Linked DNA regions of Homo sapiens: all the other regions are linked to region 3. The links are contacts of gene promoters, found by promoter capture Hi-C in human tissues and cell types (Jung and others, 2019). All regions are on one chromosome and are shown on one strand. The core of a region is centred on a gene start or on the middle of the fragment in contact, and the rest is flanking DNA. Distances in the headings are between cores, read along the strand shown. Region 1 has its middle 8.3 kb from the start of PDIK1L. Region 2 has its middle 18 kb from the start of PDIK1L. Region 3 holds the start of SH3BGRL3 (SH3 domain binding glutamate rich protein like 3).

Region 1 (3,588 bases), core at 442-2,941, 180 kb before region 3:
CTCCTCTCCAGGAGAGTTCTGTATACTGTTGGAAGACAAATGTGGATAAGGCTTGGGGCTGGGAGGTCAGGGGCCAGCCTAAGTAATATTCGCAGCTACATGAATTAGCGGGCCTTGTGGAGTCTACAGGTTTGTCCAGGGTCCAGGAGGTCAGGACCATCGAGAGGCTAAGTGTGGTTATCTGTGCCTCCTTCCCAGCCCCTGCTCTAAATAACCATAGAGCAAATATTTGAAGAATGTCAGCTTAAAGGAGTGTCTCACTCTGACCCTCAAATTTCTATTTATTTTTTAAATTGACAAAAATTGTATTTATTTACTCATATGTACAACATGATGCTTTGAAATATGAATACATTGTGGAATGGCTAAATTTAAGGCCCAGTGTAAATGCTACCTCCTCTCTAAAGCTTTCCTGCCCGCCATTCCCCTCCACAGAAGCACAGTTTGGATTTCCTCCCCTGGGCTATGTAACCTCAGCTGGCACTGGTTGAATTGTACTGTCTGCATATTTATATGTCTGTCTCCCCTCCCAGAGAAAGTCCATGAGGGCAGGGACCTTATCTTTCTGTTCACTGCTTTTTCTCAGCATCAAGCACAATTTCTTGCACGTGGTGGATATTCACCAAATAGCTGTTGACTTAACGAACAAAGTGCCACCATGTGCCAGGCACTAGTTGACTTCTGAAGAGAGGGGTATATGTCAAGACATTTGTTAGCCACCCACCAGCCTCTGAATTTAAGCCTGCCAGTAAGCCCCATCCTTCAGGACACAGAGCTTGGTCAAGGAGGGGCCCACAACCCTATCTCTTACCCCCTACTCCCTAGCCCCTAGCCAATCAGGTCCAACAAGACTTAATTTCAGGAATGTTGTTTGAGGAATAGAGAAGTTGACTTTCTCATTCCTGCAGGATATGATCTCATAAGGCTGAATTCCCACTGGTGACCCCGAGGCCCACAAGGGAAGCCAGCCTTAAGATGAAGGCAGCATCATGGGAGGCAGAACAGAGGAAACTAGAGTCTTTGGTGACATGTGAGCTGCTGAATCAAACTTCCTTCCCGAAGCTAGCCCTCCCACCTCCATTTCTCTTAGGTAAATGTACCAATCATTCCTTTCAGTCACTTTGAGTTGAGTTTCTGCTCTTGCAACATGAAGCATCCAGAAGAGGCCAGAGAATCAGAGGAAGCCGAAGCTTTAACACTTCAGGACCTGCTGAGGAGTCGGGTGAATCCTCAGTTTGGGACACTCCCAACACCCCCATCCAGCATGGTTTTCAGATGGTGGCATCCCCAGCAGCTCTTGGACCCAGGGGCAGGAGATGTGAACCTGGGTCTTAACCATCAGCTGCTCCAGCTGTTCTCAGTCCTCACCAAGAAGACAACTAGGACCCATCCAAAGACAAAAACAGCTAATGTTATACCTGGTGCAAGACCTTTGTGGGCCCCCAGATCACTTGTCTCAGGGGCTGGATCAGAAATAAACATTTTGATCTTCTTATTACAAGCATAGTGGAGGTGTAGGATTCAAGAATCAGAGTGTTGGAGCTATAAGGATCCTTAGAGATGAGCTGGTCAGACCCCCTCATTTTGCAGATGGGGAGACTGAGGCCCACAGCAGGGGGGAGTCTTTCTTGCTCAAGATGACACAGCGTGTTAGTGCCAAAGCTAATACCCTTCCTAAAGGAGTTTCTCCCTCAGCCTCCCCCTGCAGAAATGGGGCTGGGGTGGCTGGGCACAGTGGCTCACGCCTATAATCCCAACACTTTGGGAGGCCGAGGTGGGTGGATCACCTGAGGTCAGGAGTTCGAGACCAGCCTGGCCAATATGGCAAAACCCCATCTCTATCAAAAATACAAAAATTAGCCAGGCATGGTGGCGCATGCCTATGATCCTAGCTACGCAGGAGGCTCAGGCAGGAGAATCGCTTGAACCCAGGAGGCAGAGGTTGCAGTGAGCCAAGATTGTGCCATTGCACTCGAGCCTAGGCAACAGAGCAAGACTCCATCTCAAAAAAAAAAAAAAAAAAGAAAAGAAAAGAAAAGAAATGGGGCTGGGGCTCCCCAAGCTTGGGAAGAAGAAGGGAGGGGACACTGTCGGGGATTCTCTCTGCTACAGCAGTTAGGAGCTGCTCCGGAAACATTCACTGACAGGCCTAGCCAGTCGCCCTTAATGACCTCATTGTGGCATTTTGATAACAACTTGTGGTTGGCTCAGTGGGTACTAGGTCTCTAACAATGCATCAATGATGCCTCTCATAATTTCTCCAGAGGAGAAATTCAGGGTCAGCAATCTGGTGGGAAGAAAGACTCCAAGATGTGCCTTGGGGACAGGGTGTATATGGGAAGTCTGTAATTTCCACTCAACTTCACTGTGAACCTAAAACTTCTCTAAAAATAAAGTCTTTTAAAACACACACACACACAACCGGGCATGGTGGCTCATGCCTGAAATCCCAGCACTTTGGGAGGCCAAGGCGGGCAGATCACTTAAAGCCAGGGGTTCAAGGCTAGCCTGGCCAACATGGTGAAACCCCATCTCTACTAAAAATACAAAAATGAGCCAGGAGTGGTGGCATGCGCCTGTATTCCAGCTACTCGGGCGCCTGTAATTCCAGCTACTCAGGGGGCTGAGGTGGGAGAATCGCTTGAACCCAGGAGGCGGAGGTTGCAGTAAGCCAAGATTGTGCCACTGCACTCCAGCCTGGGGGACAGAGCGAGACTCCATCTCAAACACACACACACACACACACACACACACACACACACACACGCAGTTAGACCCCAATTGAAGTGCCTGTGTGACTTTGGACAAGTTCTTTCACCTCTTAGAACCTTTGTTTCCTCAGTTGTAAAAGGGAGGACAATAATAGCACATGCTTTACAGGGTCACTGTGCAGATTAGATGAGATCACTCTATAAACAGTACTTTGCACAGTGCCTCGCACAGAAGTTAGTATGAATATTACCTATTATTTATTTATATTACCGATTTGTATTTATTTATCTATAGTTTATAGGTAAAATTGCTCCATGATAATCTGCTTCCTGTGGACCCATTCTAATTAGGGACAGCCCATTTGCCTCTTCCCATGTGACCTCTCTTCAGATAGGAAAAGTAAGGCTCAGATTCATGTTGATTTATGGGGCTGGGGACCTGGAGTCCAAAGACTCCAGGAGTCTTGGCTCCACCAGTGACTTATTAGGAACCTAAGTTACTGAGTCCCTTTGAGTCTCAGTTTCTCCAGATGTAAAAGGCTATGCTCATATTCTCCACTTCGTAGGGTTCTTGCGGGATAAAGGACTTGGATCTTGACAGGTCTGGGAATTCAGACCTGCTTTAGTGAGACTGGAGCATCAGCTTCACTAATGGAACCTGCCACCAGGGGGCAGGCTTGCTACATCCAAGTTCCCATTTGTCCAAAATACTCATTTCCTTTTTTGAGCGTGATTGTCTAACTTTTTATTATGGAAAGAGTCAAACATACACAAAGGTAGAATGGTATAATAAGCCTCACGTGCCCAGCACTAAGTTTCAACAACTATCAACATTTTGCCAATCTTCCCCTCTCTGTTTGCTGTGCTGATAGTGGAG
Region 2 (3,279 bases), core at 333-2,832, 150 kb before region 3:
TTATCCAGGTGTGATGGTGTTTGCCTATAGTCCCAGCTACTTGGAGGCTGAGTTGGGAGAATCACCTGAACCCAGGAAAGTCAAGGCTGCAGTGAGCTGGAATCACCACGCTGCACTCCACCCTGGGCGGCAGAGCAAGACCTGCCTTAAAGAAAACATACACACTCACACACACACTCTCTCTCTCTCTCTCTCTCACACACACACACACACTCACACACTCACATTCACACACACAGTATCAGCTAAGTACTAATCAGTCATGCTTATGAAGAAACTATCAGACCTGAATGCAGGAAAGATCCCCTGAAAGGATTAGGCAGAACAATCCTGGAGCTCACACAGGACCAAGAATAATTGATATTTCCACCAGCCAGAACAGAAAGACCTTCTTCCAATATACAGAGCATCACAGAAGAGTATTGTCTCAGTAGTGAGGCCAAGGCTAACAGCTATTCTGGACCTGTCTATCCAAGCTTAAAAGTAAGTCTTGAAAGGTACACAGACAAAATTATAGCAAATTTGATTTAAAGATCTATATTGGCTTTTCTTTGTGATTCTAGAAAAAGGCAACACCTTATTCTATAAAATACAGTGAGTATTCCGATAAGCCAAGCAGAAAAGTATGGTTTTATAGACAGAAAAGGCCTGAGAAAAGCAGAAACAGAGAACAGAAAATTGTCTGGTTGTTTCAAAGTTACTTTCCTTATAGAGTTAAAACAGACACAGGCGTAGTGGGTTGCTGCGCCCTCCCAGGCGGTCCCAACAACTAGTGGACCAGAGCCCCCAGGGGACACAGCCTAAGTCCCTGCCCATCAGATCATCTGGAACTTCTGCCCAGAGAGGATCTGGAACTTCTGCCCAGAGAGGAGAGAGCGACTGGAAATTCTCTCAGTCAAGGTCCAAACCTAAAAGAATCACTGGCACGCCCAGCAGGACTAAGACCAATTTTTAATGAAATGTTTTCTGTGTTTGGGGTGCATAACTATATTTCTTTATAACAAAATTACTTAAATGTTTTGATTTTTTATTCCTCATATGCATGGCCTGTGACAGACCAGGGGACTTGTAAGCTCACAGTCCATGAGGTCAGAAGCTGACATCCTAAATGTCTATTTATAATGAATTTAAACAGACCAAAAACTCTGCTATGAAACTCGGAAAGACAAGCAATTTAGCAAAAATGAACCAGTCTCTAAATAAATAAAAAGATTAAAATTTAAAAATTAAAAACAACAACAACAACAAAAACAGAGGGAACTTCATTTTCATGCCAGCTCAGGTAAACTGGGCCCCTTTTGATTGGTTGCTGCGAATCTCCTGGGGGTATTTTTTTGGTAGCGGGGTGGGGGGTGGACTGGCCTGTTTCAGAGTTCAGTTTAATTATGTGGCACCCAGCATGAGTGACTCCATTCTGATTTGGCTCGGTCTGCTAGTGCTAGTGTACGAGGCTAGTCCAAAATAATGGTCTCCTATACATTTTATTTAACAAAATACATTTTTTTCTAAGTAACATAATGTGCTAGAACAAAGCTCAAAAATACTTGAGTCCAAAAATTCCACTTCTCAACAATATAAAATTCAAAATGTCTGCCAGCCAATTAAAAATATTAGAAATGGGCCAGGTACAGTGGCTCATGCCTGTGATCCTAGCACTTCGGAAGGCCAAGGCAAGAGGATTGCTTAAGTCCAGAAGTTCAAGACCAGCCTGGGCAACATAATGAGACCTCATCTTTACCGGGAAAAAAAAAAAAAGGAATTAGCTGGGGGTTCTGGTGTGGTGGCACATGCCTGTAGTCCCAGCTATTCAGGAGGCTGAGGCGGGAGGAGCACTTGAGCCCAGGAGTTGGAGGCTGCAGTGAGCCGAGATCGCACCACTGCACTCCAGCCTGGAGACAAAGCAAAACCCCAACTCAAAAAAAAAAAAAAAAAATTAGGACTTCTAATTTCTGGTTTGGCACAAAAGGAGCCTAAAAGTCACCACTCCATCCTAACAACAATTAAAAAGCTGAACACATGGAAAAATCAACCACTCTTCTTAGATATGTCAGAGCAGTGAGGTCACAGGGCAAACTGCTGCCCCTGTAATTGGAGAGATGCATTGGTAGATACAGAATATCACAATTTACTAGTGTGGAAAAGGTGCAGGGGTAGGAAAACCTAAACTGTAATTGATGAATTGCTTAGTATGGTCAACTCTGAGAGTTAAAAAGCCCAGGGGGACCCAATCACAGGAGGCTCCCCACACTATTACCTCCAGGAGCTCTGCCAGATCCTCACAGGTGCTCATTCTTCTGCTAACGGGAGGGGGAAAGGAACCATTTTGAAACCTGCCTGAACATTCTGTTCTTAACAAGGACAACCCTCAGGAGCAACTATTTTACCACAGCCTCATCTGTTGTGGTTTTATCAGCTGACCCTAACCTATCTGAGGGTATTCCAGCCCCCTCTAGCCATCCTGACCACCTAAGGGAACTTCACCAAGAGAAGCACTGGTGAAGTTCACAGTCCAAGGGCACAGGCTCACCTATGAAAAGCCCATGACCAAATCATAGGATTATAGAACACCCACCATCCCCAAATGTTACTACATTACTAAAGGCCTATTTATGGCAGTTCCTTTAGCCAGTACATTCCATCCACCTTTCACAAAAAAGTACAAGGGATACTAAAAAGCAAAAAATACAATTTGAAAAGTCTGAACAATCATCAGAATCTGAGTCAGTTATGGCAAGAATCCTGGAACTATCAGGCCAGGGATTTTTTTTTAAATTGTGATTAATATGCTAAGGACTTCAATGGAAAAAGTAGACAATATGCACACACAGATGGATAATGTAAGCAGAGAAATGGAAATTCTAAGGGTCAAAAAGATGCTAGAAATCAAAAACTCTGTAATAGAGATGAAGAATGCTTTTGATGGGCTCATTAGCAGACCGGACATGGCTGAGGAAAGAATTTCTGAGCTTGAACATATGACAAAACAAACTTCCAAAACTGAAAAGCAAAGAGAAAACGTCTAAAAAAATTTTTTTAAAGAACGGAATATCAAATAATTGTCGGCCAACTATAAAAGGTATAACCTACATGTAATGGGACTATGACAGGGAGAAAAAGGAGAGAAAGGAACAGAAGCAATAGTTGAGGTAATAATGACTGAGAATCTCCCCCAATTTTTTTGTTTTTTTGTTTTTTTGTTTTTGAGACAGGGTCTGGTTCTGTCACCCAGACTGGAGTGCAATGGTGCGATCTCGGTTCACTGCAACCTCTGCCTCCTGG
Region 3 (3,481 bases), core at 61-2,560:
ATTTTGATTATAAAATAAAGTATCTTAACAGACTCCTCAGTTTTCCATACCCTTCCATCACCACCACCACGCTATTCTACCCCTCACTTTGGCTTGTTAGAGCCAAACACCTGGGTGTTCAGCCAGGTCCCCCAGGCAGCAGCGTGGAGGAACCTTTGGCAGGTCCAGCCAGCCTCATGTCCCTATCTATCTCTGCCACCTCTGCTCCTCTGTCGTTCTATAGAACCAGATCTCTTCCCACTCACTTTCTCTTGGGCAAACCTTCCCTGAGTCATAACAGAAGTTTGTCACTGGAAAGTTTCAGCAGTCCTCTCAGGAAGTTGGCAGCCTCTGGGTTGCTGTGAGGAAGTGGCTTTACCAGAGCAAGGGTTGTCTTTCTGGGCTGTTAACCTGCCTGAGCCCTGGACCAGGGGGACATCTGAGAAGCATGATGTTGAGTGCCAGACAGCTAGGTCTCCAAAGTTGGGCTCGTTGCTGGAGTCTGCCCCCTCAACCGCTGAATTCTTGCTGGGAGTAGTAGCAGTTTGGGAATGCCATCTGCAGCATGGAGCTGGGGTTGAGCTTGGACCACCCCAAGACCTGGGGTGGATCTTAAGGGTCAGCTTGAGCCTAGGCTCTCGAGTCCTGACATCATCCTCTACCGCCACGCTTTCCAGCTGTCAGCCTTGGTCTCCATCTGGTTCCTTGAGGGTGTGGCCTCTGCGTCCTGCTATCACCCTTCCTTGTCTAAACCTTCCCACCTGAGTGGAGAGGAACTTGGGGGAAAATCTCTAAGCATGGGCTCTTCCTGCTGTCCTATGCTTCCTATCCCCTAGGGTTAGTGGTGCGTGTTGGGTGGTGGAGCGAGGGATCCCTTGGAGCAAGGTTCTTAGAGAACTTTGGGTCTGAAAGCAGCTCAAACCTTCCAAAGCCCCAAGCTTCCCTGTGCTATTAGAGCACCTCCTCCTGGAGAGAGCGGCTCTCGTGGCTGGGGAGTTGGATGCACCAAACCTGTGTGCGGCTGGAGAGGGAGGCTTCTGCCAGACCCTCTCCCGGGCCTGTCCTGCCACCCAGGCCCCTCCCCAGTCTCACACTGAGCTCCAGATCAGGGAAGGGCCGAAAAGGACGATCAGGGCAGCCGCAGAAGGGGCGCCCTGCGTGGGACGGGTCCGTTGCGCGCCTGGTAACCGAGGGGGAAGGGAAGGGGCCTCTGGCGTGCGGGGCGGTGTCGCGCAGGTCCCACCCCGCCTGCCCGCGCCGCCCATTGGTCCCGAGCGCGATGACTTGGCGGGCGGAGCAGGAAGGAAACCGCTCCCGAGCACGGCGGCGGCGTCGTCTCCCGGCAGTGCAGCTGCCGCTACCGCCGCCCTCTGCCCGCCGGCCCGTCTGTCTACCCCCAGCATGAGCGGCCTGCGCGTCTACAGCACGTCGGTCACCGGCTCCCGCGAAGTAAGTGCGCGCCCGGACTGGCGCTGGGGGAAAGCGCAGGGCTGTATCCCGGTGCTTTGGACCCTAGCGCCCGGGACCCACCCCCAGGACGGGGGCGGGGTGGGGGGAGTGCGTCGGCGAGGTGCTGGGCACGGTCTCCCGGACCCGGTCCCGAGGCCCCATCCTGAATGTCTTCATCGGGCATCCTGGGTCCTTTGCAGCCGCGGCATGAACTTCCCGTGCCCATCCCCCATCAACCCCACACCCATTCTCTGCACTCCCACTACCGGGCTGACCCTGACCACGACCGCAGCCTGCCCTCCCCTCCCCTCCCCACCCTGAGCCTGATCCCACTTCCCTTCACTCTGACCCCCTCCCCCGTGGCTGATAATCCCTCTCTTCATCCTGCACCACCTCAAGCCTGACTCATCCTCCCAACTCCTAGAGGCCAGAACCCTCCCCTAGTGTGGAGGGGAATGGGGGGACAAAAGCTCCTGGTCACAGCCTCTCTCACCCTGCCCAGCATTTCCCCCATAAATCCTCCAGCCTATCCACTAACCCCTACCCACCCTCTGTCCCCAGATCAAGTCCCAGCAGAGCGAGGTGACCCGAATCCTGGATGGGAAGCGCATCCAATACCAGCTAGTGGACATCTCCCAGGACAACGCCCTGAGGGATGAGATGCGAGCCTTGGCAGGCAACCCCAAGGCCACCCCACCCCAGATTGTCAACGGGGACCAGTACTGTGGGGTATGGGCTGGGGGACGGGGGGGTGGGGGGAGTGTTGGAAGAGGACTCTAGCCAGGGTCATATCTGCCACAAAGCACTTGGGCCCCCTGCATTCAGGTGACCACCCCTCGCCTCCCCTTCTCCAGGACTATGAGCTCTTCGTGGAGGCTGTGGAACAAAACACGCTGCAGGAGTTCCTGAAGCTGGCTTGAGTCAAGCCTGTCCAGAGTTCCCCTGCTGGACTCCATCACCACACTCCCCCCAGCCTTCACCTGGCCATGAAGGACCTTTTGACCAACTCCCTGTCATTCCTAACCTAACCTTAGAGTCCCTCCCCCAATGCAGGCCACTTCTCCTCCCTCCTCTCTAAATGTAGTCCCCTCTCCTCCATCTAAAGGCAACATTCCTTACCCATTAGTCTCAGAAATTGTCTTAAGCAACAGCCCCAAATGCTGGCTGCCCCCAGCCAAGCATTGGGGCCGCCATCCTGCCTGGCACTGGCTGATGGGCACCTCTGTTGGTTCCATCAGCCAGAGCTCTGCCAAAGGCCCCGCAGTCCCTCTCCCAGGAGGACCCTAGAGGCAATTAAATGATGTCCTGTTCCATTGGCACTGTGTCTGGTTGGTTGTGGCCTGGGCCTCCTGGGTCCCTGCCCTGGGCAAGGTTGGTAGTTGTGACTGTGCTGAGACTGCTCTGTGGGAAGGGTGGCTGAGCTGTTCTCTTGTGACTGTCACCTCTGTGTTTGTTAGTGCATGTGTTTGGATATGTCTGACACACAAATACCTGTATGGACCAGTGGTTTCTGGAGATGTCTGGGTGGGCCACCCTCCAGTTCACATGCATGTGTCCATATCATGCTTGTGCCTTGGTGTGTAGTGCACATCTCCATGCCTGTCAGTGAGTGTGGCCATCCCATGCGCCTGTGTTGGAGCACAATGGCTAAGAATGAGTGTATCATGGGAGGTGGGTACCCAGCTGCAGTTCTGCTAATTTGGGGGCATGGGTCTAGTGGCAAAATGGCTTTGTGCGGTGTTGAAGTGTCCCCACGAGTTGGTGGGTCTGTGCCTGTGCACAGGTATCTGCTGGCTGCACACATACACAGTGAGGCTCTGCTGTCCCAGCTGAGAATGTAAACCCAGCTGGGGCCAGCTCCTTCCCCCCACTGCATCCCTCCCTTCACAGGATCCACTTAGCCCTTCTTGGGAGAAAGAGGAACCTAGAAGACAAAGACCCAGCAGCCAGGCCCGCCAGCCGGGGCTCGAGTTACCAAGGGGCGGGTCGGCACCGCCCCCTCCCTGGCCCAGCTGGTCCCAGGCCTTTCCTACGTGCCTGGCGAGATGGCCCA

The links. The method cuts DNA at HindIII sites, captures the fragments that hold promoters and counts their contacts. A contact is called where the count stands out against the background at its distance.
Region 1: a contact is called between a fragment that was not itself captured here and the fragment with the promoter of SH3BGRL3 in region 3, in 6 of the 25 tissues and cell types used here (dorsolateral prefrontal cortex, heart left ventricle, hippocampus and 3 more).
Region 2: a contact is called between a fragment that was not itself captured here and the fragment with the promoter of SH3BGRL3 in region 3, in 2 of the 25 tissues and cell types used here (bladder and hippocampus).

What each region holds. Positions count from the first base shown.
Region 1 is chr1:26,101,760-26,105,347 of GRCh38, forward strand. No RefSeq gene overlaps it. Among named protein-coding and RNA genes, the nearest start is that of PDIK1L, 8.3 kb to the right of the region's middle. The HindIII fragment of the contact is 4,487 bases long and covers 1-3,588 here.
Region 2 is chr1:26,128,591-26,131,869 of GRCh38, forward strand. No RefSeq gene overlaps it. Among named protein-coding and RNA genes, the nearest start is that of PDIK1L, 18 kb to the left of the region's middle. RefSeq lists a silencer at 68-362. The HindIII fragment of the contact is 7,689 bases long and covers 1-3,279 here.
Region 3 is chr1:26,278,776-26,282,256 of GRCh38, forward strand. SH3BGRL3 (SH3 domain binding glutamate rich protein like 3) reads left to right here and starts at 1,311. Exons shown (of 3, transcript NM_031286.4): 1 at 1,311-1,428; 2 at 1,990-2,157; 3 at 2,283-2,747. The coding sequence starts at 1,381. The coding sequence ends at 2,348. CEP85 (centrosomal protein 85) reads left to right here. Exons shown (of 14, transcript NM_001319944.2): 14 at 1-33. RefSeq lists enhancers at 832-1,719, 1,720-2,606 and silencers at 1,095-1,666, 1,143-1,592. The HindIII fragment of the contact is 5,211 bases long and covers 1-2,744 here.